2 separate regions of the Homo sapiens genome follow, and region 2 is linked to region 1. Evidence: promoter capture Hi-C in 16 types of primary human blood cells and fetal thymus (Javierre and others, 2016). All regions are on one chromosome and are shown on one strand. Each heading gives the region's core, a stretch centred on a gene start or on the middle of the fragment in contact. The rest is flanking DNA. Distances are from core to core; before and after follow the strand shown. Region 1 holds the start of IKZF2 (IKAROS family zinc finger 2). Region 2 overlaps SPAG16 (sperm associated antigen 16).

Evidence for each region. Contacts are between HindIII fragments. The CHiCAGO score rates a contact against its expected background, and 5 or more counts as called.
Region 2: a contact is called between a fragment that was not itself captured here and the fragment with the promoter of IKZF2 in region 1, in 1 of 17 cell types (total B cells). The highest score is 5.3, in total B cells.

What each region holds. Positions count from the first base shown.
Region 1 is chr2:213,146,959-213,152,861 of GRCh38, forward strand. It overlaps IKZF2 (IKAROS family zinc finger 2), which reads right to left and starts at 4,654. Exons shown (of 9, transcript NM_001387220.1): 1 at 4,455-4,654; 2 at 3,186-3,289; 3 at 1,638-1,686; 4 at 750-854. The coding sequence starts at 1,671. RefSeq lists enhancers at 528-577, 2,279-2,378 and silencers at 4,745-4,804, 4,885-5,244. The HindIII fragment of the contact is 7,158 bases long and covers 1-5,903 here.
Region 2 is chr2:213,929,025-213,934,927 of GRCh38, forward strand. SPAG16 (sperm associated antigen 16) reads left to right here. Exons shown (of 16, transcript NM_024532.5): 12 at 936-1,121. Among named protein-coding and RNA genes, the nearest start is that of MIR4438, 170 kb to the left of the region's middle. The HindIII fragment of the contact is 179 bases long and covers 3,413-3,591 here.

The DNA.
Region 1 (5,903 bases), core at 3,404-5,903:
AACTGATAAAATATTATAATTAAGAAAAAAGCAACCATATTCTTAATAAAGTATTTTGTCTTCTGTCACTGACAGCATGTAAGTTGCATCTTATTACATAAAAACAATGTATATTACATCAGTAAATGACCCTTTATCAAAAACAGTAGCCAAAACTGTCTTTTCCTACAAATTCAAAACATCTTTCCAAATTTTATCAGTTCTTCTCTGGACAAAAGCCTTTCAACTTTGCTACAGAAATGGATATAAATGAGTTCTATAAATTTTCAATTACACTTCACTTCCAATGCTTTGGAGAAGAAACTTTCACATTTTTTAAAAGCAAGTAACACTGTAATTTTATCACTGACGGTTTAGCTTTCTACCAAGGCAACATAAAATTATTTCATTTTTTAACTGTGAAGAGTCCTTTGGAAGTGACGTTTCCACATTTTTTACCCAACAACAACAAAAAATCCAGTCATAAACCTGGCAAGTCAAAACAACAACCAGCAAATTCTAACCTTTCTTACCTGATACAGGTAAGCACCAGCTCCCAAATGCCACCTTGGGATAGTTCAGACTAGTAAGCAGGCTCATGTTTTATAATACTAGAATGAACAGGAATAAATCTGTGTTGTTCTTTCTTTAGCAAAATCTATAACAGTAGCTATACCACAATGTGAGAGGACCCCACAGACCTAACAAATTAAAGTCTGTTGCTGGAGAGACACACACACACAAAAAAAAATCATAAAATGAAGACTTACTGCTTGTCATGTGACTTGGTGAGGCATGCTGTCCATTGGGTGTGCTTGAGGTGAGGTCAATTGCCATATTGGAGTGCTCCCTTTCGGGTGAAAGCTCATTGTCACCTGCTTTCACAAAATATAATCTTTTGGTTTCTATTCATTGTCACATAAGATGTAATTACTAACTTTGCTTTATACACGCAATGGCATGCATAGCCTTCAAACTGTAAGGTAATACATTTTTCCCTTAGAAACTATAAGGAAATATCATTTAGAAATATACAGTTGAATGAAATGATGAGAAGCCATAATCAACCCACAATAAAAAAAATTAACAAAACTTTATTATCTCAATACATAAGTTGTTGATTTCTAAAGTATCTTTCAGTTGAAAGAAATAACTTTTCTTTTAACATCTAATTTAATTGTTAAGCACACAGAATTTATAATGAGCATTTTCCAAAATGCTGGCTATCAGAGAGAGGATGGAAAAGACAGGTAGCTAAAGAAATGTCAAGTTAGGAAAGCTAATTCTCTTTCACATAATATGTCTGAAAAATTAGGTTACAGAGAAGTAAATATTTAGTACACACCATATTAATAGACATATATGAAACCTGGCCTATTCTCAACTTACAACAAAGTAAATTATAAAAAGTAGGAAAGTGTTGAACTGCTAGCTACTATTGATTTAAGTACACTACTTAACTTAGTATGTTTCTATATTTCCTTCTTATTTCACTTCAGTGCTGTCATTTTCTCAAACTCATTCAAAGGTGAAATTGTGAACAGAGAGAAAAAAGAGTACAGAATTCTCAATAAAGTTTCATAATCCAGGAATTAAAACACAGGTAATACAAAGGCAACTTTATTACCAATAACAAATCAATGAAAACTAATACTTACACGTTATATAGCCATCAATAGCCTCTGTTTCCATAGTCAAAGTGCAATGCTGCAAAACAAAAGATTATACCCTTAATACAATGATTCCTTTCAGTATCTGCCATTAAATTCTTAACTTATTTGAAGCTCCAAGCAGTTAGTCCATGTTGCTGCTGCCACCTGTGCCCAGAAACATACACAGTGTACTGTATGTGCTCATTTGCAAGTCACTGAACTCTTTCTGCAAATGATCTGATTCCTGCTGGAGATAGGATAGGAAAGATAAGTGTGCTGTGAGATGGGCTAGAGCAAAAAGGGAATGACTCTCTTAATCAAAATTTATTGGGTTTAAGAAAAAATAGGGGGTATAGCTCAAATGTGTCAGCTTTAACTGGGATTTAAGTGTTTTACCATTCACTACTTCCCACAATCACACTGCAGTTTGAGGACTTCCCCAGTATACAGATAGCTCTATTCACAATTGTTGCAAGTTGGTTCATCATGTTCTAATAGGGAGGGGGAGGACAAACAAACATAAGAAAACAAAACAAAACAAAAAACTTAGTGCCCAACGGTGTCTTGAAGATTTCTACAGCAGTTGGCCAACTCCCTGACTTGTATTGACATTTTAACCTACCCCAAGTTCTGTGTAAGCACCTGTTCAATGTAACCTTAATTTCCTGCCAGACCATGCTTGGACACAAATGCCAAGCCTACTTAATACAGTCTGATTTTGAAAATTTCATAAACTTTGGTTGTGCTAGAGAGAATCATTTAAAAAAAAAAAAAACTTTGGGCAATTATTCTCATGCACAAACGCCACACAACAGAACATAATTCTCAGAAACAAAAGTAAACTGTATGAGATGACACCCCCTAGCTTTGATTCACATAATGAAAAGATCGATAATCTAACTGTATTCTGTGGGGAAAAAAGTTTAAGAATTGACAAGTCCTGAGAAGATTTTTACTTTTTTTTCCCCCTTTGGCCTTGGTCCTTTTTGCCTTTAGTTTCAAAACTCTCACTGCACCAGCAGCTAAATTATTCACAATGAGCCATTTCTGTATTGATCGCCAAGTATATTTAGCCCTGGCTCCTGGAATTTCTCCATTACTTACTGGAAAACAGGCAGCTTCACTTCTTGTCTCCAAAACCACTTCCCTTCTCCCTCCCCTCCCCTTCTTCACCACCACACTCCCTTACCCCCCCCCCAAAAAAAAACTTTTATTTCTTTCTTTATGGAATAATCAGATCAAATTCCCAACTCAGTCACTACATAGCACTTAAATTTCAACCTGCTGTACTGTTATCACATTCTTTTAAATTATGATTACATAAGGCTTTAAAGAAAGAGATCCGTAAAGTTTAAAAGAGGAGCAGTTTCTTCGGATATTTTACAAATGAGCTTATCTCTTTAAAAATGTACACATTTAACACACACATATTAAAAAGAAAGAAACGTCAGGGAGAAGCGAAAGAAGGCTGCCCCATCAATGAAATGGTTATTAACCCTCAGAGAAGGAAAGAAGGAAAAAGAAAAAGGAGAAAGAGAAACGAAATGTACATACAAAAGAAATTGTCCTTTGATTAAAAAAGATTCATCACCATTTCCAGCTCTGTCGGGAGATCTCAGCTTCTTCTAACCCCTCAAAGAGGAGGTGACAATGTCGGGCTGAAGATAAACGGAGGGAGAAAGAAAGAAGTTTTTTGTGTTTCCCCCTTCTCTCTTTCCCTCCCTTGCCCCCTCCAAGCCAAGCCCCCTGCAGAGTTCAAGGGGAGGAGGAAGGAAAAGCACTTTACAGGTGGGTCATTCCAAGCCCAAATCCAGCAAACAGATCGGCTGATAAACAAAACCAAGAAATGAGAGAGAAGAACACCCCCCTCCTCCTCCTCCTCCTCCTCGTCCTCCTCCTCCTCCTCCTTCCACCCCTCCCCCTCGTCCCTTAGGGATGGTCTAGTAGGAAAAGTCACTCAGGAATGGCACCACGTACTTTCAGGAAAGAGGAAAAAAAAGAGAGAGAGAGAGGTCAGTCAGTGCTATAGCAATGCGATTAACAAGAGAAAAAACTTGATCCACCGGTTCCTTAAGAATCGACCAAAAGCTAAGACAAGAAAACTGAAAGAAAAGGGGGGGGGGGCGGGTAGAGGGGAGGGACAGTCAGGCAGAACCCAGCTAGGAACCCAGGCCAACTTCACAGGACTGTTTTTGGCCCTTGGCAAAAAAGAAAAAAAATAAATAAATCTTAATTCCATCTCTTTCGCCCATACTAGAACCTGTCAAAGTGATTTAACTGCTGCCTGTTTACATGTGTCATACCAGGGTTTTTGGTTTTTTTTTTTTTTTAATTCCAACAGGATCTGGATATTACCTTCTATCTGGACAGCTTCAATTTATTCCAGCCTACCCAATCTTTCTTCTTGGAATTCAAGTTAAAACAAAGCAAAACAAGTCCAAATTCATGACAGCTATAGAGATGAGAACTGATTAATCGATTAACATCCCAGAAACAGATTACAAGGAGGGGACGATAAATTAAGGCAGAGGACATCATCTTCAACCCGATTCCCTGAGCGTCCTTTACAAAAATCATTACCCTAATCAGAACCACAATCCATCCCTCCCAGAGAAAAATACCTATATTATTATTATTATTACTGGTTAACAGCAACAAGTCATTTGATCACATCACAGTGCAAAACGAGATGCTATATAATTACACTTAACTTTGAAAACACTCCCCCCTTTGCAAATCATACACATATTTATATATAATCTATGAATCAGAAGACAAAACAAGAGCTGTTCTTCACCACGCAAAAGCCAAGCGGAGATTTACCTCAGCAGTGCATGCAGTAAAATAATCCCATCACCCTTTTGTTTGTGTTTACTGTTAATGTGTCCTCTGTCTTTCTTTCTTTCCTGTGCCTAACGTGTGTTTGTGCACTGCAGTTGGTGGTGGAAACTAAGGCAGTGGATCTGTAGCTAAGGGTAATCCTGTTTTTACTTCCTCCATCTTCAGCGAGGAGCAGGGTTAGCCCGGGACAGCTGGTCAAACCCCGAGAAACCGATCCGGTGGAGCCCGAGCACATCTCCCCCGCCGGCCGGGCTCGCGCAGACGCCCGCGGGCGGAGGGCGGGCTGGCGGCGGCTGCGGCGGCGGCGGCGGCGGGCGGCTGGCGGCGGGCAGCGGAGCCCCGGGCGCGGGCGAGCGGACGTGCGTGCGCGCGCGTGCGTGTGTGCGGGGCCCGAGCGCCTGTGCGTGTGTGTATGAGAGCGCGTGTGCGCGCGCGCGCGGGCTGGCGGGCGCGTGTGCGCGTGTCTGCGCGCTAAGCCGCTCGGCGCGCTCGGCAATCGATTACAGGACAAGTGCTGCCCCGGAGGCTCCGCGACGCGCGCACTCCCTCGCGCCCACCCGCGCGCCCGGCCGCGTCGCCCCCAGCCCGTTGGTCCCCGGACTGCGGACCCCGCCCCCGACGGGGGCCAGGTAACCCGCTTCCGAGTGTGCCACGGCGACCCCCATCTCCCCTCCCCGTGTCATAATAAATCTCACGTTTTCTGCCGGCTGGAGGCTTGGAGCGGTGAGGTGACGTTCATTTCGGCCGCGTGAAGTTTTCTTTCAAACTGGGATTGGTGGGGAGGCCGGGGGAAGGGAGCGGGGCGGCGATCTTGGCGCCCTGCGCGGAGTCCGGGAGCCGCGTCCCGGCCGAGTCGGGGAGTGTGCGTGGAGCCTCCCACCTACTGGTCTCCGCCGGCAACTCTGCGGCCCCATTTCGGAAAGCGCACCGCATTGACCGGGACCTGAAGCGGGATAAGAGGGGTCCTGGGGAATAGACTGAGAAAGACATTCATGTCTGAGATGAAGCTCAACTATTACTATTTTGAAAGTGCTTTAACAGTGCAAGTTTAAAAACTAAAGTGTTGACTTGCTTTTTCTCCCCCGGGGCATGTGCCACGTCTTCCAAAGTCAAAGGAACGGATGAGTACAAAAAGTTGCTACCCTTGAAGTGTTACCTATCACTATCAACCACAGCTTGTTTATTTGGAAAGAACTTAAGTGAACCGTCAAGAGAAAAACAAATGCATATTCTTTCTACAAATAGTAGCATTTAGTATCTTTCCTGACCACATTTGCGAAAAGAGGGAATAGAGACTTCTATAATTAAAGGGAAAAGGAAAATGAAAGGAGCTGAAAATAGTGAACTGTGTAGTCTGGATGGCTGAAATTTGAAAACACATGAAATTATCAGGACTGCCAAACGGTGTTCCTGAGAAACCATATCACAGAT
Region 2 (5,903 bases), core at 2,252-4,751, 780 kb after region 1:
TTTTTTTAAGACTGAGTCTTACTCTGTTGCCCAGGCTGCAGTGCAGTGGTGCGATCTGGGCTCACTGAAACCTCTGTCCCCGGGGTTCAAGCAACTCTCCTGCCTCAGCCTCTCGAGTAGCTGGGATTACAGGCGCACGCCACCATGCCCGGCTAGTTTTTGTATTTTTAGTAGAGACGGGGTTTCACCTTGTTGGCCAGGTTTTTCTACAACTCCTGACCTCAGGCGATTCGCCTGCCTCGGCCACCCAAAGTGCTGGGATTACAGGTGTGAGCCACCGTGCCCGAGCCTGACGCCTACCCATTTCTTAAACTAGCTTTTGTGTCCACCACTTGGAAGCCACTGCTTTAAGATCTACTGATTACCGAAATGCAAAATTGAATGAGTCATGCTCAACCACCCAGCACTTAAACATCTCTTTGATCTCTCATGATCTAACTCAAAGGTATCTCATTCCTGATTCACTTCTTCCTTCATCCAAACTGCACTCCTGAAGCATTTAATTAATCTAAACATAAGCAATGCTGACTTACTGTTTCATATTGTATTATGTTTTTGAAACTGATTTAGCCCATGTCTGAATCTTTATTGTTCTGAAGCCCGATCATCCAGAGCCTAATATATACAACGCTGAACCAAACAAACACATGATAACAAAAACACTAATTTAGTGAATTAATCTAGAAGAATCTAGCAGAATTAATCTAGAAACTGCACAGCAGCAGTTTCTCTCTTCAGCTTGAATTACTAAGCAATTCAAGTTAGCAATTGTGTAGACCCAAATAAGATAATAATATTTAGTCATTTAGATATGCCACTACAAGTAAAAATAAATCAGATACATACACATACACACAAATTACTCATAGAATGCAGTATTCATAAAAATTATGTTACTTTTTAAACAAGCTGTCTTTTTATGTTTTTGCAAATAGTGGCGACAAATTGGCTACTTCAAGTGGTGACACTACAGTTAAATTATGGGATCTATGTAAAGGCGATTGCATTTTGACCTTTGAAGGACACAGCCGCGCAGTGTGGTCCTGCACATGGCACTCCTGCGGCAATTTTGTGGCTTCCTCCTCACTGGATAAAACTAGCAAAATTTGGGATGTTAATAGGTAAGAAGTACTTTAAACATTACTAATCCTCTGTGCTGATACATATACGTGGGTAAAGTGGTAAAGTTCTTTTTTTTTTTTCCTTGATGCTACCCCAGGGAAACATTAAAAGAAACTGTTAGTTGATAAGATTATAGAGAGCTACTTAAATAATCTTTGTGAAATCCATTTCTAACTCCATTAATCTTTGTTGATTAATAATTTCTTTCTAAATGTAAGTATCAAGATCAAGCCTATGTAATAAGATTAGAATTGCTTCATTGGAAAGCTGTTTGTTTCAAGCAGGATAGAAACAAATACTTCTTTTAAAGAGTTGGATTTTTAGTTCCGCTTTCCACAGGCTTGTTATTGCTCTGTACTATTAAATGTAATAGTTCAACGAACGTAAATATAACAGAAATAATTATTTTCTTTATGCTTAATTTGTTATGTCGTGATATTCTTGATTAAATGTTTCTTGTCGATTCACAAATTGTAGGAAATAGTATACTGTATTGTATGTAAAATCCTATACATATCATGTGGATTTGGAAGTTTTATGTTTTGATTTTAATTCAAGGTAGACAAATTCATTATGTTTCAAATATTGAAATTACTATCACCCATATATTTTTGGATGCTCATTACCTTCTGTTAGGTTTGCAGATATGATACAAAGAGGTAAATTTAGCTACTATCAAATATGCTAATTCCTTCAGCTAAGGGGTTATATATCATCCATCAAACTTTCTCAGTAGTCTGTGGTCCTAGCTCTGGAAGGACCTCCATCCACCAGAGGAACACCCATAACAGCAGAGAAGTGCCCTCTCCTCGGAGGACTGAGGTTCCGTTTTGAAGGTCCTCCCTTCAAGGGTCTAAGTTTTAATATTCTACCTTATTCCCTGTGTTCGCTCAGTCCTAGGGGTGGTAGCTCTTTCTTGAAGTTGTTATCTCCATGATATTTTAATGTTCTTTTCCCTTTTTTAGTTACTTAGTTAGCAACTTTATTCAGTTTTTACCATCCTGCATGTGAAATTATTATTGTTACAATGATAGGTGCAAGTTCCGTTTCCTGACAAGTCCTTGAAAGATCCAGGGCATTAGTGGATAAGGAGCATAACCCACCTGAGTTATAAAGCTATAGCTAAATAAAATTAGCCTGCCCCATAGGAGAAAACATGACTGTGAATAACATATTTTAGACCTATGTCTATCTGAAATAGTGACAATTTCAGATAGCTTTTAATTCTCAGATGGGTACTTACTATTTATCTGGAATATCCAATCATTTATAATTCTTTATTATATTTCTATAATGTGTGACTGGATTTCATAAATATTTTTATAATAGATTAATGGAATTTTAGCACTAGTATTTAATTTGAATTTTGTATCACTTTTGACTTGGTTGAGGATCGTAATAGAAAACAGTGATCTTTTCTAAAATGTAATATGTCTTTAGAACTCTTAACTACCCAGGGTGTTTAAAAGCAAACTATGGTTAAAAAACTCAGTAGTCTCAGCCCTACTTGGAATGATTTCAAACACTTTGACTTGACAACTTTTCTTTATGACCCTGGTATCTAAATACTGACTTCCAATTGGTGCCCAGTAAATCTTGATATTACAGATCAAAATTGCTTCTGATTGATGCCAAAATTCTTTAAACTTCAAGTTTCCCATCACTGTCAAGAGTTCACTTTCATCATCAAGGACAAAATAAATTGTACTAATTTTGGCATTGAGGTGGTGGATAAGTATTGACAAATAAAGTAGAAATTGATTGTTTCTATAGTGGCTATTGATATACCTTTCAGAGTCACAATCAAAGTACCAAGCTCTAATTTATAATTACTCTCAGATCAATACAATATAGATATGTCTAAAACTAGTGTCTTTCTTCAAAATTTCATAGATTACTTGAACTGGCTTAGTTACTTAAGGCAAGAGATTATTTGCCTTGGTAAGATGGATGGTGCTGGAGCTATGTATGCTGTGTCATATATTCTTGGCTTGATACTGCATATATATATATATATATATATATATATATATATATATATATATATATATATTTGTTGTTGTTGTTGTTGTTGTTGTTTTTAAGACTGAATCTTGTTCTGTCACCCAGGCTAGAGTGCAGTGGCACAATCTCAGCTCACTGCTCTGCAACCTCTGCTTTCTGGGTTCAAGCAGTTAACCTGCCTCAGCCTCCCGAGTAGCTGGGACTATAGGCACGTGCCACCACACCTGGCTAATTTTTGTATTTTTAGTAGAGACGGGGTTTCACCATGTTGGCCAGGCTGGTCTCAAGCTTCTAAGTGTTTGAGAAACTCCCAAAGTGCTGGGGTTACAGGCGTGAACCACTGCGCCTGGCCATGCTGCATAGTTCTTAATAAATACCAAATTTATATTGGTAGACAGTATTAGTCACCAGAGAAGGAAGAGTTTAGAATACATTCTTCTCTTTTCACACCCGTCCTTTCCTTCAAGCTTCTGGCTCAGTCTTGAACAGCCTTGATTGGTGTTCTATCTCTAGCTCTGCAGCTGTTTCTGAATTGGGCAATACTTGGTAAGACCATCCATTTAGTTCCTCACCAAAAAGTTGGATCACTGTGAAGCATCAACAATATAGAAAATTTCAGATCAAGATTCATATTTACTGAGTGCTAATCAGAATCTATGAACAATTATCTATGACACTCAGTCTGAATAATTCCATACTCTACAAGGTTTCTGTGAATAATTAACAGTAGCTTTTTTATTATCTTCTGAATGATCAGGTATATAAATTGTTATGTATTTCACTTAATGGTTGTTTGAAAACACACACACACACACACACACACACACACACACACACACACCAGTGTAACCCAGAGAGTGCTTGGCACATGGTGGTTTACTTACATAAATGAATAAAGAGTGATTCAACAAGTAAATATGGCAAAAGTATTCTAAATATTCTCCCTGACCCATCCACATTTAAACTACAATATAATTATGCTGTCTTATCCTACACAAATCAATAAAATGATGAAAATGGGGTAGAAAAATCAGAAAATAGCTATAAAAAATAATTTGTATTTCTTTAGAGGCATTTAGAGGCATTTGTATATAACATTAAGCAGTAAGTATTCATGAAATGACTTAACAATGTTGGTCTGTGTTATAGATCTAAGACAATTCTCATACTCAACCATTGCCTTCAATGAGATTACAAGTAATTTAAAATGCAGCAATTTTAAAGCAATAAGGGAATATGCAATGCATCTACCATTTATATTTATAATATCAGATCAGGTATTCTAGTTGACTCCTGGCTGCTTTTCTTCCAAGGTAGCTGGGTATTTGACTGAGCAGTTATATCACACTGTTACTCTGATATTTGGAAGGCAGACCATGTGCCTGCTTAGCTTGTAGCTCGAAGGAGAAGGGGTCGGAAACAGCCAAAATGTTACTGAATGTTGCTATTCCAGCTGTTTTAACAAGGTGTTACACAGACAAGAATTGGGTGGTTTGTACCAAGGATAGTAGGAAACAGAGGGACTTGCAAAATTCAACAGCTTCTTGACCCCTAATGTTGGGAGATAAATCTGTGGCCCTTATTTCTAAGTGTATTGTGTCCAATACTCTTGTAATTACATGGGAAGAGGAAAATAAAGAAGGTTTAAGAACTGTGTTTACTTTAATTTGTGGTTACTGTGGCATTGCGTTGCCTGGAAGCAACTATATTAGAAACCTACCAAGTTTTTGAGAGAATTGTATTGACAAGGAAACTATGAGCCTATCCTTAAATCCCGTTGACTCTTCAAACAGTGAAACAGTCCTCAGAGCCCCAAACTTGCATCCAAAAAAAGTGGACTTGTATTTTTGCACAGTTCAGAAGGAAGGCAGAGACCATAGCACCAATCTCAATATGGCCACAGAGGATAATGAACAAGAAGGAACCTACAGTGGAACTAAGCCAGAAGCTACAAAGAACAATGGGGAAAGGTGCTCCTCTGGGGGACAGCCATGGTCCAATCAAGGAACTTTCTTCAGTACCACGGCAAAGTTCCTCATGATGCCTGCCTAGTTTTTCACTATTTGGACTAGTGATGCTTATATGTTTCCCATGTTTCCGTTTTCTGTATTACAGTTTATACTGCAGTTATTCTGTCCTTACTTCACAATTGTGCATTGTGTTCATGGTGGTGATGGTGGTGGGAAGCAGAAAACTTGTATTTTGTTTTGTTGGTTACCATAATGCAAGTGACACTGCTGAACCAAATGATGCAGATTGTGTGTCAGCCACAGATCATGAACTGTGAGACATGCAGTAACTGAAGAAGAGATCTGGGGATGTTTCTTTTTTTGGTTGTGGAGAGAAGAAAGTCAGTGAATATTCTAAGTGTGGAAGAAAGGATGACAGATATTTGGTGAGAAAAAGGCCAAACTGTGGCAGAGACTGTTAGCTTTTCACTAGAATCCACTTTTTCCTCCTTCCATATTAGTTAGGCACTTGGCTATATATCTAAATGATATTTATTAGCCTCAATTAGTTAAGTATGTCTGCATCACTAAGTTCTATACAATAGAATATTAGTTAAAGTAGCAGGTACTATTTCCTCATTCTTGCCCCCTTGTGGTGGAATGGAATACCAGTGACAATGACCACAATAATCTTAGAAGCCTATTATTGAAACTGAAAGAACAATTGTCAAGCTGCTTGAAGTAAAGCCACCCCTGTTTTGTAACTTCAGTTAGGCTGCAACATTCTCTGGACTCTCCAGCAATAAGAAAATACACTTCCAGGCCTGG